Linked DNA regions of Homo sapiens: region 1 is linked to region 2. The links are contacts of gene promoters, found by promoter capture Hi-C in blood cells and fetal thymus (Javierre and others, 2016). All regions are on one chromosome and are shown on one strand. The core of a region is centred on a gene start or on the middle of the fragment in contact, and the rest is flanking DNA. Distances in the headings are between cores, read along the strand shown. Region 1 has its middle 290 kb from the start of CACNA2D1. Region 2 holds the start of CACNA2D1-AS1 (CACNA2D1 antisense RNA 1).

What was found. The method cuts DNA at HindIII sites, captures the fragments that hold promoters and counts their contacts. A CHiCAGO score of 5 or more calls a contact.
Region 1: a fragment that was not itself captured here is called in contact with the fragment with the promoter of CACNA2D1-AS1 in region 2 in 1 of 17 cell types (M2 macrophages); the score reaches 5.4 in M2 macrophages.

What each region holds. Positions count from the first base shown.
Region 1 is chr7:82,730,486-82,733,275 of GRCh38, reverse strand. No RefSeq gene overlaps it. Among named protein-coding and RNA genes, the nearest start is that of CACNA2D1, 290 kb to the right of the region's middle. The HindIII fragment of the contact is 2,912 bases long and covers 1-2,786 here.
Region 2 is chr7:82,007,679-82,010,552 of GRCh38, reverse strand. It overlaps CACNA2D1-AS1 (CACNA2D1 antisense RNA 1), which reads right to left and starts at 1,376. Exons shown (of 4, transcript NR_110077.1): 1 at 1,291-1,376. CACNA2D1 (calcium voltage-gated channel auxiliary subunit alpha2delta 1) reads left to right here. Exons shown (of 39, transcript NM_000722.4): 16 at 2,797-2,874. The HindIII fragment of the contact is 1,784 bases long and covers 1-1,647 here.

The sequences.
Region 1 (2,790 bases), core at 81-2,580, 720 kb before region 2:
ACCTTTTAGTTTTTCCTACCATTCAATATTTTTCCTACATAGTATTTATTACAGTTGATCATTCTATAGTAATATAATTATTAATGTCTCTCACCCAATCAGCCTGTAAACCCTGTGAGGGCAGGATCAGGGCTCTTGCTCAACACGTATCTTCAACATCTATTACAGTACCAGGTGTGTATCTCAAAGTATAAGACATAAAAAATGAAGTAGCATAGACTTCATTCAAATATTACTGGCTTAGTCAAATTTTACTGAAAGTCAAATCCTTTTTACTCCTCTCTCCTTTCCTAAAGTAGAAAGGAAAGGAGGCCTATGGCCAAGGCCACTGTAGCTGGGAATGTGCTGGTCACACCTGAAACCAGTATGACACTAGATCTTGCCGAAGGCCCACGACAACTGCTGCCTGGCTGCTGTTGATGTTTATTCAAGGCCCAGGGGCTCTTTAATCAGCATATGATGGATCCTGACAGGACTGGGTTCTTTCCTTCAGGGCAGTGGGTTCTCTCCTGACCCAGGGTAAGTCTAGAAATTACATCCAGGAGCAACGTCCTGGAATGGGGGCCTGCTTGGTGCTTTATTTTACTTTGGCTGAACTGGTATCCAAGTTGCAAGACAAAGTCCTCTTTACTGTTTCCTCAAGGAGAATCACTTGAGGCCAGGAGTTCAAAACCAGTCTGGGCAACATAGTGAGACCCAACTCTACAAATTTTATTTAAAAATTAGCCAGGCATGGTGGCACATGCCTGTAGTCCCAGCTAATTGGGAGGCTGAGGCGCAAATCTGAAGTTAGCATAATATGATTGCACCATTGCACTCCAGTGTGGCAACAGAGTGAGACCCCGTCTCTAAAATAACTAAATATATAAGCCCTTTACTGTAGATGGCAGAAGATATGATGCATATATATCTGTAGGTGAGGGGTGGTATAAAAAGTTGTAGAACTACACATTTGCTGACTACAAGTTTCCCAAGGAAATAAAAGAGCTGAGAGAAGTGGAGAGTAATGGAGATTTCTGTAGGAGACAGGAACAGGGATATGAACAGAGTGTTGTTCTTTCAAAGCAATTGCCCAAAACGATGACTCACACTCATAATCCCAGCACATTGGGAGGCCAAGGTGGAAGGATTACTTGGGGCCAGGACTTCGAGACCAGCCTGATCGACATAGCTAGATCCTGTCTCTACAAAAAAATAAAATAAAATAAAACAATGCCCAAAAGAATGAAGGAAAGAATTGAGCGAAGCCAAATAAAAATTGACTAGTGATTCTGGGTCCCAATGATGTCACCAAAAGTTCATAAAATCTATGAAATTTACTTTTTTATTCATTCATTCATTCATTCAATAAAATTTACTATTTTATTCATTCATTTCCATTCATAAAAACTATGAACTTTTGGTGGCATCATTTCACATTTGTTTTCTGATTTTTTTTCTGTTGGTGTTTTAATAGTCAATTAGGTTTACAAGCTGAGAAGGCAGATTTGGGGAATGATTTATTGGTAGCACTTAGTAGATGGGTTACATAGAAGGATAATGAATTTGGAACTTGAAAATACTGATGGAGAACAGTTCCTATTACTGGCTATGATACTTTTCATTCTTAGAAGTAACCTCTCCCATCTCCAAAATCTCATAACAGTTTATATTATGTATTATAGTCATTCCAATGCTTGTTTTTGTATCATTATTCCATAAGCCCATTGAGGATCATAACTCTAGTGTACAATTGATCAATATGTGCAGATGCCTTGTTGTATTACAATATAAAAATTTGTAATAATCATTAATTATTAAATATTGTTGACTTTTTTTTAAATGGAGTCTCACTCTGTTGCCCAGGCTGGAGTGCTGTGGCACGATCTTGGCTCACTGCAACCTCCGACTCCCTGGTCCAAGCGATTCTTCTGCCTCAGTCTCCCGAGTAGCTGGGACTACAGGCACGTGCCACCACGCTCAGCTAATTTTTGTATTTTTAGTAGAGATGGGGTTTCACCATATTGGCCAGGATGGCCTCGATCTCTTGACCTCCGGTGATCCACCTGCCTCAGCCTCCCAAAGTGCTGGGATTACGGGTGTGAGCCACCGTGCCAGGCCCACAATAGCCAAAGATCTTTAATGTCCCTGTTTTGTTTAATCCTTCAACATTCTTTTATTTATTTATTTATTTATTTATTTATTTTGAGATGGAGTTTCGCTCTTGTTGCCCAAGCTGGAGTGCAATGGCGTGATCTCGGCTCACTGCAACATCTGTCTCCCAGGTTCAAGCGATTCTCCTGCCTCAGCCTCCTGAGTAGCTGGGATTACAGGCGACTGCCACCATGCCCAGCTAATTTTTGTATTTTAAGTTGAGACGAAGTTTCACCATGTTGGCCAGGCTGGTCTCGAGCTCCTGACCTCAGGTGATCCACCCCGCTCGGCCTCCCAAAGTGCTGGGATTACCGGTGTGAGCCACAGCACCCAGCCCAACATTCTATTTTTTAAAGACACATTTTTTAAAAACAGGAAAATTGTTACAAATTATATTAGTCTAAGCACTATCATAGTTCTCTAAGTTTAAAGAATTACCTATTAAGAAATGTTCCCCTTCTCCATGTGATTCAGGAGTAATTTCCTCCTAATTGCTAGCAAGGTGAAGTCTACTTGCTACTAAGGAAGCCATTATTGGTCTATATATTAATAGAGTGATAATTGAATACCTGTGGATGAGAATTGAGTAGGGGATACTTTGACATGCTCAGAGGAGTTTCATTAAACGCAAAATCAGAAAATGCTGAGAAGCTTGCT
Region 2 (2,874 bases), core at 127-2,626:
ATAGGAGGAGTCAATAATTATGCCCTGTTGTGTTTCCTTTGACTGGAAGTTCATTAGCCAGCATGTCTGCATTGCTGGTAAGGTTCTTACTGATAGCACAAATGACATTAGGAGGAAATGTTGGTTCTAAATGTGCTGTGCTATAAGCTGAAACTGAATGTAAAAAAAAAAAAAAAAGGAACACGTGAATTTGCTATTCATTGGACACATATAGCGTTATTTTTACTGTTTTGAAGATGATAAAGTGATCCTCATATATTCCTAGTTATTTGTTTATAATCTCTCCACACAGCAGATTAAAAATATATGTTGGTCAAAAATAAACAGTTATATTAAAAAGGAAAAGGTAAATATATTTCAAAACGAAATATAATGGATATAATGAGAAAAAGAATTCTGACTTCAAAATGAAGCCAATATTGGGGGCAAAGTGGGTTGTGGTTAAGAAAATGGAGACATTTTAGCTGATATTAGTGTAAGATTTTTGCAATTGGTGGTGAAAAGTGAAACCATAAAAATGGGGTATAGCATAAAAGTTGGGGAAGCACTGAGTATATCAAAAAAATGATACCTTGGTCATTTTTGGTAATAAGGGGAGATTAGGACAATATTGTGGAGAGTTCATTTTAATTAGGAGACAAAGTGAAGCTCTTTATAAAAAGAGATATGACAAGAGTTGGGCTCTAGAAAATATTTTTAAAATTCCAGGGTAGAGAAATCTTGTTTTATTTCTCTCTTATTTTCTAGAGACATGTGCAGTACTCAGGAGTAGAGTACAAGTTTTTGGTCTGCTTAGTAAATGAGAAAAAAATTCAAGTTGGGCCCAAATGAGTTCATTCATAATTATCTTTAATATGTTAGTAATCTAGTAACTCACTTTAGGCTACATTTTACCATTTTTAGAAGCAAATTATGGTATGCAGTATAAATGCAAAAGTAATGCAAAGGAAATGATTACATCCATATCTACCTTGTCTTAAACCATGGTAGCATTTTTAAAACCATGCATATAGATTATAGCTCTAACAGACACTTCACCAAATCCTTACTAAATTATCTTTTGGATACCAGTTTTACGAATTAATCTATAGCCTGACTTTATTGAGGTGGGAGGTTTTCATTGGAAGCATTAATTTATATAATTAAGGATGTTTCATTGTCTAATGTTCTTGGTTAGGACTTTATAAGCGCCAACATGTGTCTATCACTGTATGAGTCTGTTCTCACACTGCTGTGAAGAAATCCCCAAGACTGAGTACTTTATAAAGAAAAAAGGTTTAATTGACTCACAGTTCCATGTGGCTGGGGAGGCCTCAGGAAACTTAAAATCATGGCGGAAAGCATCTCTTCGCCAGGCAGCAGGAGAGAGAATAAGTGTTGAGCGAAGGGGAAAGCCACTTAAAAACCATCAGACCTCGTGAGAAATTACTCACTATCACGAGAATAACATGGGGGAAACCGTACCATGGTTCAATTACCTCTGGATCTCTCCCACAACACGTGGGGATTATGGGAACTACAACTGAAGATGAGATTTGTGTGGGAACACAGCCAAACCATATCAATCATCATGCACCCAAATATGTATGGTTGTTTCCTTAGTTTTATTTGCTGCAAATAATTTGGTATTTTGGTCTTCTGGAAGCTTCTCTATTATTGTCTCTCCTCCCTAATTCATTCATATTCCCATTGAATTTGGGCCTCCTATGTGCACAATTATGAACCACAACCTGATACCACAACATTTGCTCCCTGATATTAATAAATATTTTTAATGTTCTAGTGAATAATTATTCCAAATCCAACTTTATGAACTCGGTTCTGATTCCAGAACTCTGTTCTGAGTTCTTGAGATTTGGATTTGGAATCACTATTCGTGAGAAGATTAATAATAATTTCTCATTTAGCAAATTCAAAATTTCAAACAATAAAAATTATTTTAAAGAGTGATTTTGTTAAATGTAGTTTTGACATGAAATGGTTAAAATTATAATGGATATAGATGTCAGTAACAAAAGCAAACTCTGACTTGAAAATCAGTTTATTTTGACTAATCTGTATGGATTCATTTAATGTATTAAATTATGTGCTGATTAATAGGATGGCATTAGTTCTACTATGTTAAACTCTTCAGACTAGACTTTTATATTTGATGCTTGCAGTTGTCTTTTCTTCATAATTTTACTTGTCAAAAAGTACTGCTTATTTTGGGGTCTACTTAGAAAAGTAGTACTGCTTCTGAAGAGCGTAACATTTACTTAGAATATCCCAGATATGCAGTATCAATAGAATGTTTCTTTTATTTATCATGTTATTCAACTGCACATTTTTCATTTAGCATGAAGTCTTTGGCTTAGGGCATAAAAAATAAAGAATAAGGCTACAAAAAGGGAAGCTAAATAATCACTTAAAATAATATTTTATTATCACTCTGCTTATGGAGGCCCTGATATTAGGTGAACTATCACTATGAAAAAGGGGGAGGACACAGGGTTACTGAAATGCATACAGGCTGTTGACTATTTGTGTAAGCTGATTATTTTTGAAGTTATCTTAGAGGATTATTTTAAATGTTGCATGCTTCAGTAGGTGCCTAGTAGGTCCTAATTATTTCCAAGATATTTTCCTTGATATTTTAAAAATAAATTTTAATAGATATTCAAAATGAGTTACTAGTTTTTGTGGCTCTTTATAAAGTAACTATAAAATGCAATCTCAGATATCAAAGGTTAGTGCACTCTGACAAAGCTTAAATTGTAATTTTAATTTGCCCTTTCTCTCTGAATCTATTTTTAGGAACTGGGACTTGTCATTACTGGAACTCTTCCGGTCTTCAACATAACCGGCCAATTTGAAAATAAGACAAACTTAAAG